Linked DNA regions of Homo sapiens: region 1 is linked to region 2. The links are contacts of gene promoters, found by promoter capture Hi-C in human tissues and cell types (Jung and others, 2019). All regions are on one chromosome and are shown on one strand. Each heading gives the region's core, a stretch centred on a gene start or on the middle of the fragment in contact. The rest is flanking DNA. Distances are from core to core; before and after follow the strand shown. Region 1 has its middle 17 kb from the start of WFDC8. Region 2 holds the start of DBNDD2 (dysbindin domain containing 2).

Region 1 (6,438 bases), core at 1,920-4,419, 190 kb after region 2:
GGGCACAATTGTCCTGACTTGGGAACCACAGATTAGATTTACCCACATATTTTCCCTTTCTGTTTTTCTTCATTCCTTCTTCCATTTTCTTGTTCATCATTTGCCTGCATAAATCTCTGATATTTCATTTCTTTTCTTTTCTTTTTTTTTTTTTTTGAGATAGAGTCTCACTCACCCAGGCTGGAGAGCAGTGGCGTGATCCTGGCTCACTGCAACCTCCATCTCCTGGGTTCAAGCAATTCTCCTGCCTCATCCTCCCATGTAGCTGGGACTACAAGCATGTGCCACCACACCTAGCTAATTTTTGTATTTTTAGTAGAGACGAGGTTTCACCATGTTGGCCAGGCTGGTCTTGAACTCCTGACCTCAAGTGATACACCCTCCTTGGCCTCCCAAAGTGCTGGGATTGCAGGTGTGAGCCACTGTGCCTGGCCTGATATTTCTTTCCATGTGAAAGTGCTGGTGATGAATTTTCTCAGTCTTTCTCTGAAAATACCTTAGTTCTGGTCTTATTTTTGAAAGATTTTTTTCTTAGGTATAGAATTCTAGGTTAGCATTATTTTCCATCAGCAAGTTGAAGATATCATTCCATTGTCTTCTCCCTTTCATTATTTCCATTGGGAAGACAGCTATCAGTATTACTGTTATTCTTAAAAAGGCATGTCTTTTTTTCTGTCAGATTTTAAGATTTTTCTCTTTGCTTTGGCTTCAAGTAAAATTAAAACAGATATACCTACATATGGTTTTACTGTGATGTGCCTAGGTGTTCACTGGTCTCAGGCGGCTTCTTTAATATGTAGCTTGATGTCTTATATCAGTTTACCAAATTCTCAGCCATTTTCCCTTTCTTTGCTCTATTCTGTCTTTCTTCTCCTTCTGCATCTCCAATTACACATATGTTAGTTCTCTCACTATATGCTATATGTCACATTCATTCTTTTCTATACTTTCTAGTATTATTTTCCTCTCCCTGTTTTAGTCTGGATATGTTCTGCTAACTTATCTTTCAGTTTGATCAACCTCTCTTCAGCTGGGTCCAGGCTTCTCTAAATAGCATACACTGATTATTTTATTTTTATCATTGTATTTTTATTTTTGGGATTTTGATTATTTTCTTTTTTATTATAATGAGTCTCTTGAATACAGCACACAGGTGGATTTTGACTCTATCTGGCTTGCCACTCTGTGTCCTTAAATTGGGGGCATTTAACCCATTTACATTTAAAGTTAATATTGTTATGTGTGAATTGTATCCTGATATCATGATGCCTGTTGGTTATTTTGCAGACCTGTTTATGCATTTGCTTCATAGTGTCACTCATCTGTGTGTTTCAGTGTGTTTTTTGTAGCGGCTGGTATTGGTTTTTCCTTCCATGTTTAGTGCTTCCTTCAGAAGCTCTTGGAAGGCAGACCTGGTGGTGACAAATTCCCTCAGCATTTGCTGTCTGAAAAAGATTTTATTTCTCCTTCACTTAGGAAGCTCAGCTGGGCCAAATATTAAATTCTAGGTTGGAAATTATTTGCTTTAAGGGTGTTTAAAATTGGCCCCCGATCTCTTCTGGCTTGTAGGGTTTCTGCTGAGATGTCTGCTGTTAGTCTGATGGGCTTCCCTTTACAGGTAACCTGGTCCTTCTCTCTGGCTGCCCTTAACATTTTTTTTTTCATTTTGACCTTGTAGAATCTGATGATTATGTGTCAGGGCTGATCTTCTCATGGAGTATTTTACTGGGGTTCTCTGGATTTCCTGAGTTTGAATGTTGGCCTGTCTTGCTAGGTTGGGTGAGTTTTCCTGGATGATACACTGAAGTGTATTTTCCTACTTGGTTTCATTCTCCCAGTCTCTTTCAGGTACCCCATCATTTCTAGGTTCAGTCTTTTAACATAGTCCCATAGTTCTTGGAGGTTTTGTTCATTCCTTTTCATTCTTTTTTTCTCTAATCTTGTCTGCCTGCCTTATTTCAGCAAGATAGTCTTCAAGCTCTGATATCCTTTCTTCCACTTGGTCTATTCAGCTATTGATACTTGTGTTTGCATTATGAAGTTCTCATGTTGTGTTTTTCAGCTCCATCAGATCATTTATGTTCCTCTCTAAAGTGGTGATTCTGATTAACAGCACCTGTGATGTTTTATCATAGTTCTTAGCTTCTTTGCTGTGAGTTAGAACATAATCCTTTAGCTTGGTGAAGTTCTTTATTACCCATCTTCCTAAGCCTACTTCTGTCAATTCATCCATCTCAGTCTCAGCCCATTTCTGTGCCCTTGCTAGAGAGGTGTTGCAACTCTCTGAAGGAGAAGAGGCACTCTGGCTTTTTGAGTTTTCAGCATTTTTTCTCATCTTCATGGGTTTATCTACCTTTGATCTTTGAGGCTGCTGACATTTGAATGGAGTTTTTTATGGTGCCTTTTTCATTGATGCTGTTGCATTCTGTTTGCTTTTATTTTAGCAGTCAGGCTCCTCTTCTGCAGGGCTGCTGCAGTTTGCTTGTGGTCCACTCCAGTTCCTATTTGCCTGGGTCCCTCCCATCCCTGGAGTTATCACCAGTGGAGGCTGCAGACCAGCAAAGATGCCAAGCTGCTCCTTCCTCTGAGAGCTCTGTCTTAGAGGGGCACTGGCCTGACGCCAGCTGAAACACTCCTGCATGAGGTGTGTGGAGACTCCTGTTGAGAGGTCTCACTTAGTCAGCAGGAGCAGGGTCAGAGACCTGCTTAAATAAGCAGAGTTTCTGCCCCTTGAAGGGTGTGCCACACTGGGGGAATCACCCTCATCTGGGCTGCCCTGACTCTCCAGAGCCAGTAGGCAGAAAAGACAGATCATTGATCCACAATACCACAGCTGTCCCTCCTCCTAGGAGGTCCTCTCAGGGTTATCAGTGCCCCATCCATAAACCCCTGGCTGGGGATACTGAGATTCCCACTGGGAGGCCCCAACCAGCACTTTGGGAGGCCAAGGCAGGCAGATCACTTGAGGTGAGGAGTTGAAGACCAACCTGGCTAACATGGCGAAACCCCATCTCTACTAAATATACAAAAATTAGCCAGACATGGTGGCATGCACGTGTAATCCCAGCTACTTGGGAGGCTGAGGCATGAGAATTGCCTGAACCTGGGAGGTAGAGGTTGCAGTGAGCTGAGATCGTGCCACTGCACTCCAGCCTGGACGACAGAGTGAGACTCCGTCTCAAAAATAAATAAATTAACCCTAATGAATAAAGCTTTAATTGTGGGGCATTCAGATAATGGAAAATTGTCCTTAGTTAGGGGGGACTTCTGAAAGCCCTTCTCATTTTGTCCCTGTTGACACAAGCAACATTGCCTTTGCTTGGCATGAAACCCAGCAGCAGGGCCTAGGCACAGAGATCAGCTCCCTAACTATTCTGTTGATGCAACAGCATCACTGGATGTCTCATATCTGAGATACTGCTGATCTGTTCTCCTCTTGGTTTGGGCACAAACCATGCAGATGGGACATTAGTGATGTTCCGATGATGCAGTGTCCCAGGTAGCAAAAGCAATAAGGCAGAGGTTGATCCGAGTGAGGGTAGGAATAGGGCATGGAGTGATGCTCTGGATTCTTGGCCTCTGCACTTAGCACAAAGGAGGAGTGTCTGGAGCAGACTGACAAGGAACAAAATAGTTCCAGGAGACAGGTGCCATGCTGCTGCTTATTTGGGTTGAAACACACCAGCCTAGATTAGTGTTTCTTTGAACAACTATTAATAATATTTGTTGCTTGGAACAATAGTTGTTAGTTGTAACTAATAAATCTATTGCTTACCCCTGCTATACCCATGGGATACACCCCACCCCACCTTCATCTATCCATTACAAAAAAACTCCTGTGTTCCCACAGAAGTCAAAACAGATATTTCCCCCCCTGGGGAATGCTCCTGATAAAATCCACAGTACTGCAGATGGAGGGCTCCTAGACTTAAAAAGACTCTTCAGGGCACTATGTGAAAATAGAAGAGATCCTCTGACTTGAGACAGAGCAAGAACCTATGGGGAAATTCTAGACTCCAGAAAAGAATCCAGACCTTTTATATCCATTATAAGAGGGAGCAAAAGGAAAAAAGAAAGTACAGAAATTCCAAATTGAACACCAAGTTCACAGTCCAGTGTGATGTCAGAACTGGGGACCAGGCAGAGCACATGATGTCAAAGTAGGAAAACAGGATTTCATTCCTTCTCTTCTTCCCTCTCTGTCAGGGTCCAGAGAGAGCCTGGGCTGGGTCTATTTTCTCCAGGATAAAAATATATATACACTCAAAAGTGTCCCAATTCCTTCTTTTTTTTTTTTTTTTTTTTTTTTTGAGACGGAGTCTCGTGCTGCCACCCAGGCTGGAGTGCAGTGTCGCAATCTCCGCTCACTGCAACTTCCGCCTCCCAGGTTCAAGTGATTGTCTTGCCTCAGCCTCCCAAGTAGCTGGGATTACAAGCATGCACTACCACGCCTGGCTACTTTTTGTATTTTAGTAAAGATGAGGTTTCACCATATTGGTCAGGCTGGTCTCGAACTCCTGGCCTCAGGTGGTCTGCCCGCCTCAGCCTCCTACAGTGCTGGGATTACAGATGTGAGCCACCGTGTCCAGCCCCAATCCTTTCCTGTTTCTCAAGGCCATGTTTACATTTAGCATGCCCCAGGGACCCTACTCTGAACCTCTCACCATCAACTTCCTCTCTACCCTCTCCCCTTAACTCATAGGTACTGACTGTGAGTCCCCTTATGCTTTGTTATCATGCTCTACTCTGGACTCTACTTGTCTATATTATAAAACTTATAATGCTGAAAGGCATGTAGCTACCTTATCCATCTGTGCATGAATACCTAGTCCCTTTTCCTATAGAGAGGTATCAACCCAGGCACACAGTAGCAATTTTATAACCTCCTGTTGATTACTTAATGGAAGTTATTAAATTTTAAAATGAGCCTATTACAGGTTATGTGGATCCTGAAAGAGTAAATGACCACTAGTGGAAATGAAATCAACTAGGCAAAAAGGACAAATCTAATACTTCTTAAACCGAGGAATAGGTAATAGTACCTTTGAGTACTGCTACTTTGAAGGCTATCCTTCCATGAAGGAAATTAAGGACAACTAGAGGAAACAGAGGAATGGTCTTAAGAAAGGAAAAAAGAGGGTAAGGATAAATGGAGAAGCAAGTTGAGGGCACCTGTGGATCAGTTATGGGGATATGCCCATATACGGGTGGTTGCTTCCTACAGATATTGGGTACATGTAGAAGGGAGAGGTCTTTGGGGACCTGGTCGAGAAAAAGTGGCTATGTGATGAGTGGCAGGGATGGGAAGTCAGTGAAGAAGTCAAAGCTCTTGGACAGAAAGAAGAGTCAGGTACGTGGCTTTAATGAGGGAAGCTAAGGGTGCTGGAGATGGAGTAGTAGAAGCAGAAATCCTAGGTCTGCTTGATTGGAATATCAAGGCTGGGATATTCTCTCCCATGGAAGTGGGTCCAGGTGAAGCAAGGAGGTAACCCTGTCTCCCTCTCTTCCTTTCCCATCTCCCACTGATGGATCACAAGGCCAGGTAACCTTGGCCATTTACTTGTCAGTCCAGGCACATCTCTCTCTGGTCAATGTAGAAATCCATATATGAATCCATTTGGAAGTGCCTGAATAATAATCCACCTGTTGGGATTGTGTCAGGGCAGGTAGGTATGTACAACAGGCTGAGGAACCTTGAGAATCTACCCTTTTCAAACTTAACAACCCTTCTAGACTCCAGAATCCATGGATTTAACTGCTTCTTAAGAAAGCGTCCTCTTTGTACTCTCCAAGTCCTGTGTTTGCTTAAACTCACTCCCTTTGCCTGATCTGCTCCTGCAGTCTCCCACAGGATCCACAATGTGCTGGCCTCTAGAGCTTCCCTATTTCCCCTTGGCCAAAATGAAATCTACTTTTATCATCCCAAACTCTAATGAAGTCATCCAGTGAAATCCATACTCATAGAACTCGAGATCCCAAAAGAGCCTGAGAGTTCCTCTAGACTCTCACCCATATCTTATCTCTCCCTGACTCTTATTCTCTCTCTACTGTCAATCACTCACTCCAGTCGTCTTCTAGAGTCCTTCTTTAACCTTCTTTCCAACCTCTTGACCTTTCCACTATTACTAGTGTCATAGCTCATAAGTATCCAGACTTCACCATCTTCTCCCTTTTCTTCAGCACAAAGTGAATGCATTAAGAAATAAGTAATTTTTTTTTCTCCCTTGGAAGTGATCAAAGCTACATACAACTGGTTCTCGAATTCTTTTTTTTTTATACAGAGTCTTGCTCTGTCGCCCAGGCTGGAGTGCAATGGCTCGATCTTGACTCACTGTAACCTCTACCTCCTGGGCTCAAGCAATTCTCCTGTCTCAGCCTCCCAAGTAGCTGGGATTACAGGCGTGCACCACCATGCCTGGCTAATTTTTGTATTTTTAG
Region 2 (6,485 bases), core at 2,555-5,054:
AAACAGCTAACGATTACTGAGCATTTCCAAAGTGCCCAAGTCCTGTAACTAACCATTTTATATAAATTATCTTATAAGAGGGAGGGATTAATTATTCCTCTTTAGTAGGTAAGAGATCAAGGATCAGAGAAGTGTTTACCCAGCTGGCTAGAGGAATCAATAGGTTTACAACCCAAGAGGGTCTGACTGTATTGCCTGTGCTCTTAACCATTGCATTTGTTGCCTCCCACAAACTAGTTTCCATGCTTGTAAACTAGTGGGAAAATTGCATGCTGTATTTATCTCACAGGGTTGTTTTGAGATCCCAATAATGTTAAGAGGCAGTGCTTTAGTGTACAGAGTGCTGGTCCCCTGACAGGGAAACCTGAATGTGTCAATGATTTGTTCACACTTCCCTCCCTCTGCACATGCCCTTCTCCCTCTTTTCTGCTTGTTGAACTCATGTCTTCAAGACTTAGCTCAGATATCAGCGTCCAGATTTTATTCTAACAGTGGAGGAATTTAGGCAACGCCGCGTGGCGGGGGGGTCGAGGGGGGCACACCAGACTTGTGTTCTGAAATGACAGCTGACTTGTAATGCAGGGAATGGAGTGTAGCCGGGCCAGAATGAGTACAAGAAAACCAGATAGGGCCGGGCGCGGTGGCTCACGCCTGTAATCCCAGCACTTTGGGAGGCCGAGGCGGGTGGATCACGAGGTCAGGAGATCGAGACCATCCTGGCTAACAAGGTGAAACCCCGTCTCTACTAAAAATACAAAAAATTAGCCGGGTGCGGTGGCGGGCGCCTGTAGTCCCAGCTACTCGGGAGGCTGAGGCAGGAGAATGGCGTGAACCCAGGAAGCGGAGCTTGCAGTGAGCCGAGATTGCGCCATTGCAGTCCGCAGTCCGGCCTGGGCAACAGAGCGAGACTCCGTCTCAAAAAAAAAAAAAAAAAGAAAAGAAAACCAGATAGAAGGTTACTGCATTAGGAGCCCAGGCGGGAGGTGGTGGGGCAAACGGAAGGAATGGTGGACTGGAAAGATATTTAGGAAAGAGAATCGACAGGAAATGGAGGTGTATTTTAATATAGGCAGCGAGGGAGAGGGAGGTGGCAAGGATGACTCCTAGTTCCTGACTTGCTCGCGGATGTTTGTCGAATGAATGATCCAGTGACCCCAAGGCAGAAGTATCTCAGAGAGATCCCCCCACTCCCCTCCCCGCACCCGTCACCACGCTGCCTTCGGAGCTCTGACCGTAAGGGGGTGGATGGAAGGCAGGAGGAAGGGAATGGCCACGGAGTCTTGGTCCAGGAGCTGCTAGACTGGACACTTCTAGCACTGGTCTGAGCCAGGAGACGCTGCGAAAAGAGGGCAAACGTTTCTCCTCTCGCAGTTGCCGCCTCGCCCCTCCACCCCCGCCTGGCCAGCAGCGCAGCGCCCCTCTTAGCACCGTGGAGGTGCTGGCTCCTTGCCGGCGTCGGGGGGCGCGGCGTAGCGGCCCACCCTTCCAGCTCTGACCCGCCCGGCCGGCCCGGCGCCCACCCCGCCCAGTGTGCTTGGTAGGTTGGGCGGCGGCTCTGTCTAGTCCCAGAGCCAGGAATCAGGGGCAGCCGGGCGAGTCCCAGGGCAGGGGTCCTCCGCCGCCTTGCACCTGCCCTGCTGGGCGGCACCGGGTCAGTGCCCTGCCCCCTCCTGCGGGTCCCAACTCTCTCTTTCCCATCGTGCGTCCTCTGGAGAAGTGCGCGCGTGTAAGTGTGGCGAGTGTGGCCAAGGGTGCCGGAGGCAGGGTTCGGGTGCGTAGTCGTTGCGTGGGCGCTGCCCAAAAGGCGCAGAGCATCAAGTGTGCGTGGGCAGAACCGGCGCGGGCGCCCGCCGCGGGTCTGCGCGGGGCGGGGGCGCAGCAAGTGCATCCGAGCGAGCGGAGACTAGCGCACCGGCGTCGGTGGCGAGGGTGGTGCAGAGGAGTCCGGCTGGGCGGAGGGAGGAAGGATGGGTGCGGGTAACTTTTTGACCGCCTTGGAAGTACCAGTAGCCGCGCTCGCAGGGGCTGCCTCCGACCGCCGGGCGAGCTGCGAGCGAGTGAGCCCGCCACCGCCCCTCCCCCACTTCCGCCTCCCGCCTCTTCCTCGTTCCCGGCTCCCAGGGCCCGTCGGTCCCCCGGGAGCCCTGGAGGCGCAGCCCCACCCCGGCCGGCGCGGCTCGCTCCCACGCCCCCGCCGCGGCCTCGCTGGAGCGGACGGACTGAGTCAGAGGGGGCGCCAGCGCTGCAGGTAGGGGCTCCGGCGGCGGTGGGCGCAGGTGCCGCGGTGGACCGCGGAGGGGACCGGAGCACGAGGGGAACGGCCTTGGGGGAGCGCCCTCCCCCCGTCCTCCGCCGACGCCTCGTGTCCCTTTTTAGGGAATTTTTTCCCTCTTGCTGGCTCCAGTGCGGGTGGGGCTGAGACCGAGAGGGAGTTCTCCATTTCGCTGGCTCCTGCCCGGCCCCTGGCAGCCTCCTGCCCCCAAATCTCTTCACCCCCTTTCCAGTACCTATAGGTCGCGTAAACAACTCCCTTTCTCCAGCTCTGGGCTCCGCGGCCCCCCGGGGGACAGCTCCTTCAGTCTCGTGAGATCGGTGGGGTTAGGGGGAGGGGAAAAGAGAGGGGGTGTCCCAGAGCCCCTGGCCCCCGTCAGCTCCCCCACCTTGGCCTCTCCCTCCCCCTCCTCGCTGCTGGAGCACAGGCTCCAGGGGCCCTGGGTATTTTTAGCGTTGTGACCTGGGCGGCAGCTCTAAGAGCCTTTCCCGGGAATCGGCGTCAGCGCCTCGCTCCTCCGCCGCCAGCCCGCGGCCGCACGGTCTCCCCAGACTTCCGTGGCCCTGCCTTGGCCAGTCGGGGTTGGGTCCCTCTCCACCTCTGTGGCGCCCGTGGAGCTGGCCAGGGTCTGGGATACGCTGGGTGCAGATGAGGTGGGGAAGGCAGTCTGCGGAGGATGACGTCTGATCCTCAAGCTAGAAACTCCCTTGCCTCTGGTGATGGGCTCAGAGCAGAACGCCGGGAAGGAGATGAGCGAATGGGAATGAATGCACCGACCTGGGCTGGCCCATAGCCTCAGTGCTCTGGCAGGGTCTCAGCTTCTCAGCCCTAGGGGTCAGGAGGCCTGCTCTGAACTGGACCCAGAACCCGCCTTTCCAATTGCTCCTCACTGACTAATGGGGAGATAAGTCAGTGAGATGTGTCCCAGGAGGGGGACGCATAAAGAGCTGTTGGAGTTCAAAGGAAAGATGGTAGTCTCCTAAATAGCTCACCTTCACAAGCAGGGTCTTGTATTTGAGGCAGGTAGGTTGGTTATGCCATTTTCAGATGGGGAGACTAAGACCAGAAAGGTGATTTCCTTAGGGGCAGAGCCTAGTCTGGAAGTCAGGCCTGTGACTTCAGAGCAAGGGTTTGGGGTAGATGGCACATGCGTGTGTACGTGTTTGTGTGGGTGGAGAGAAAAGGAGGGGCGCGGGAGGAGTTGCTTTAGCCTTTGTCTGGGTTTTGAAGGATGGGAAGGGGTGGGCTGCAGCACTGGAGGAAGGGAACCCTCCACCCTGAGATCTCTGTCTCTATCCTATCCTGTCCCTGGCCTTCTGAGGCAAGCGGGGCCAATTAAGGGGAAAACGTACCTCCTCCATTTGTGCTGAACCAATCCCTCCAACCCCTCTCAGGAGGGCATGATATGGAGAGTTGGGCATTGGCTGTGTTCCCTGAATACAGAGTATCTCTCTTGTGGTGCCTGGAACTGGCATCCCCTTTGTGGAGCTTAGGGCAAGCCCCGCCTCTGCATGAGACTTGGTTTGTGGGACACACTTGGTTTCAGGGAAGGGGAAAGAGGTCACCAAGGGCAGAGGTGTCCAGGCCGGAGCCAGGGGCCCCACTGTTGGGATGCTGGCTGCAGTGGGGCGCCCCAAGCCCAGGTCCCCTCTGTCTTCTCTTTCGACTTTGCAGCTGTACTTGTTTTGCTCCTCTACCCGCAGGAGCTGACATGGACCCAAATCCTCGGGCCGCCCTGGAGCGCCAGCAGCTCCGCCTTCGGGAGCGGCAAAAATTCTTCGAGGACATTTTACAGCCAGAGACAGAGTTTGTCTTTCCTCTGTCCCATCTGCATCTCGAGTCGCAGAGACGTAAGTCCCAAGTCCTGAGAAGAGGGACTGGGGTAGGGTAGGGAGGATGTCCTGTGGGTCCTGAATCTTGTGGCACTCTCTCCCCTCTGGTTTTCTTGGCCCTCTATGCTTCTAACTTGGGACCTGACATGTAACTCTCACTGTCCTGGTGTGCAGCTTGGGTCCTCCTGACTTGCCCACTTCTTGATCCGCAGCCCCCATAGGTAGTATCTCATCCATGGAAGTGAATGTGGACACACTGGAGCAAGTAGAACTTATTGACCTTGGGGACCCGGATGCAGCAGATGTGTTCTTGCCTTGCGAAGATCCTCCACCAACCCCCCAGTCGTCTGGTATGCCCCTCTGCTTTGGGGACTTCAGTGCCAGTCAGCCAGAGCCGGATGTCAGGCTCTGAAACGAGGCTACAAGGCTGGGCTGGGGAAGTACACAAGTAAGGGCTGGAAGTGGGTGTTTCTACCAATGAAACAGCTGCCTGTTCTGATTTTAGGGAAGTTGACCCTGAGGGAGAACTGGGTTACACATCTCTAATCCAAAATTCTGGGAACGGTCAATCTCTTCTTTAATTTTACATTTGTTATATTAATATAATTAGTCACTATAATTAAAATAATGTAAAATTGTAATTTTTATATTTGGCAACTTAAGTAGTTTTAGTCATTATAATGATATTAATATGTATTGAGTACTTTAGTAGGTTCCAATACTGTACTAAAGTACTTTACATATATTATCTCAATCCTTACAACGTCCTGTCAGGGTAGGTGATATAATCTCTATTTTATAAGCAGGAAATTAGGCTCAGAGAAGTTAAGTCACATTGTAGCCAGAAGGTAGATAAACTGGAATTCATGTCTGTCTGACTCCAAAGCCCATATGCTTAACTTGTAAGATAGATATTCTTTTAATTAAAACTGCTACTATTTATTGATGGCTTACTATGCCAGACATTTTATAAGCATTCTTAGGTTTTATTCCCAAAACCCTTTGGGGATGTAGGTATCCCTTTTATTTTGCAGAGGAGGAACAGAGTCCTTGAAAGGGAAAGTGACTTGCTCAAAGCCACTCAGCAGCAATAAGTGATGTAGGTGGAACTTGAACTCTTGCCATTCATTGACCTGACTGTAGATCCCAGACATGGTGTAATGACGTGGAAGGAGCTGGCAGTCAGGAGATGGTGATCTTAATCCTGGCTCTTTGCTGGATTGGCAAAGTCACTTTGGACAAGTCTCTGCCCCACTGTGGACTTTAGTTACTCCTGGCCAGATAATCTTTAAGAGTTCTCTGAAGCCCTGTTTGTGGCCTGACCAGCTTTTCTCTCTGGGCAGGGATGGACAACCATTTGGAGGAGCTGAGCCTGCCGGTGCCTACATCAGACAGGACCACATCTAGGACCTCCTCCTCCTCCTCCTCCGACTCCTCCACCAACCTGCATAGCCCAAATCCAAGTGATGATGGAGCAGATACGCCCTTGGCACAGTCGGATGAAGAGGAGGAAAGGGGTGATGGAGGGGCAGAGCCTGGAGCCTGCAGCTAGCAGTGGGCCCCTGCCTACAGACTGACCACGCTGGCTATTCTCCACATGAGACCACAGGCCCAGCCAGAGCCTGTCGGGAGAAGACCAGACTCTTTACTTGCAGTAGGCACCAGAGGTGGGAAGGATGGTGGGATTGTGTACCTTTCTAAGAATTAACCCTCTCCTGCTTTACTGCTAATTTTTTCCTGCTGCAACCCTCCCACCAGTTTTTGGCTTACTCCTGAGATATGATTTGCAAATGAGGAGAGAGAAGATGAGGTTGGACAAGATGCCACTGCTTTTCTTAGCACTCTTCCCTCCCCTAAACCATCCCGTAGTCTTCTAATACAGTCTCTCAGACAAGTGTCTCTAGATGGATGTGAACTCCTTAACTCATCAAGTAAGGTGGTACTCAAGCCATGCTGCCTCCTTACATCCTTTTTGGAACAGAGCACGGTATAAATAATAAACTAATAATAATATGCCAACCATTCGACTTCATTTTTCATATTGCAAAGATATCAAACCCACTACATGTCTTTAGCTCTCTAACCGATCCCATATTCCTATCACTCACTCATTCCATTTATTCAAGAAATGTTTATGGAACACCCATGCTAGGCATCTGGAATACAGTTTTGAGCAAGACAGGCTGTACTGTATACCTGCCTTCATAGAGTTTACTGTTTATGGAGGAGAAAATCAAGTAAATACTACAATTCACAGTGTAATAAATAGCATGATGAGGAACTACTCTGGTACCAGAAAATAGGGGCATGTTAACCTAGTTTCTATGGTCACTGAAGAGCTGTTTTTAGCTGAAGGACGATTGGGAGTTAGCCAGGCACAG

Evidence for each region. The method cuts DNA at HindIII sites, captures the fragments that hold promoters and counts their contacts. A contact is called where the count stands out against the background at its distance.
Region 1: a contact is called between a fragment that was not itself captured here and the fragment with the promoter of DBNDD2 in region 2, in 2 of the 25 tissues and cell types used here (liver and thymus).

What each region holds. Positions count from the first base shown.
Region 1 is chr20:45,592,809-45,599,246 of GRCh38, forward strand. No RefSeq gene overlaps it. Among named protein-coding and RNA genes, the nearest start is that of WFDC8, 17 kb to the left of the region's middle. The HindIII fragment of the contact is 3,566 bases long and covers 1,387-4,952 here.
Region 2 is chr20:45,404,485-45,410,969 of GRCh38, forward strand. DBNDD2 (dysbindin domain containing 2) reads left to right here and starts at 3,805. Exons shown (of 3, transcript NM_001048225.4): 1 at 3,805-4,122; 2 at 4,317-4,454; 3 at 5,448-6,123. The coding sequence starts at 3,984. The coding sequence ends at 5,656. SYS1-DBNDD2 (SYS1-DBNDD2 readthrough (NMD candidate)) reads left to right here. Exons shown (of 6, transcript NR_003189.2): 4 at 3,976-4,122; 5 at 4,317-4,454; 6 at 5,448-6,126. It overlaps LOC107985404 (a long non-coding RNA gene), which reads right to left and starts at 3,405. Exons shown (of 5, transcript XR_007067608.1): 1 at 3,265-3,405; 2 at 1,630-1,948; 3 at 1,233-1,336. It overlaps LOC107985405 (a long non-coding RNA gene), which reads right to left. Exons shown (of 2, transcript XR_001754640.2): 2 at 6,091-6,485. RefSeq lists an enhancer at 2,393-2,942. The HindIII fragment of the contact is 23,713 bases long and covers 1-6,485 here.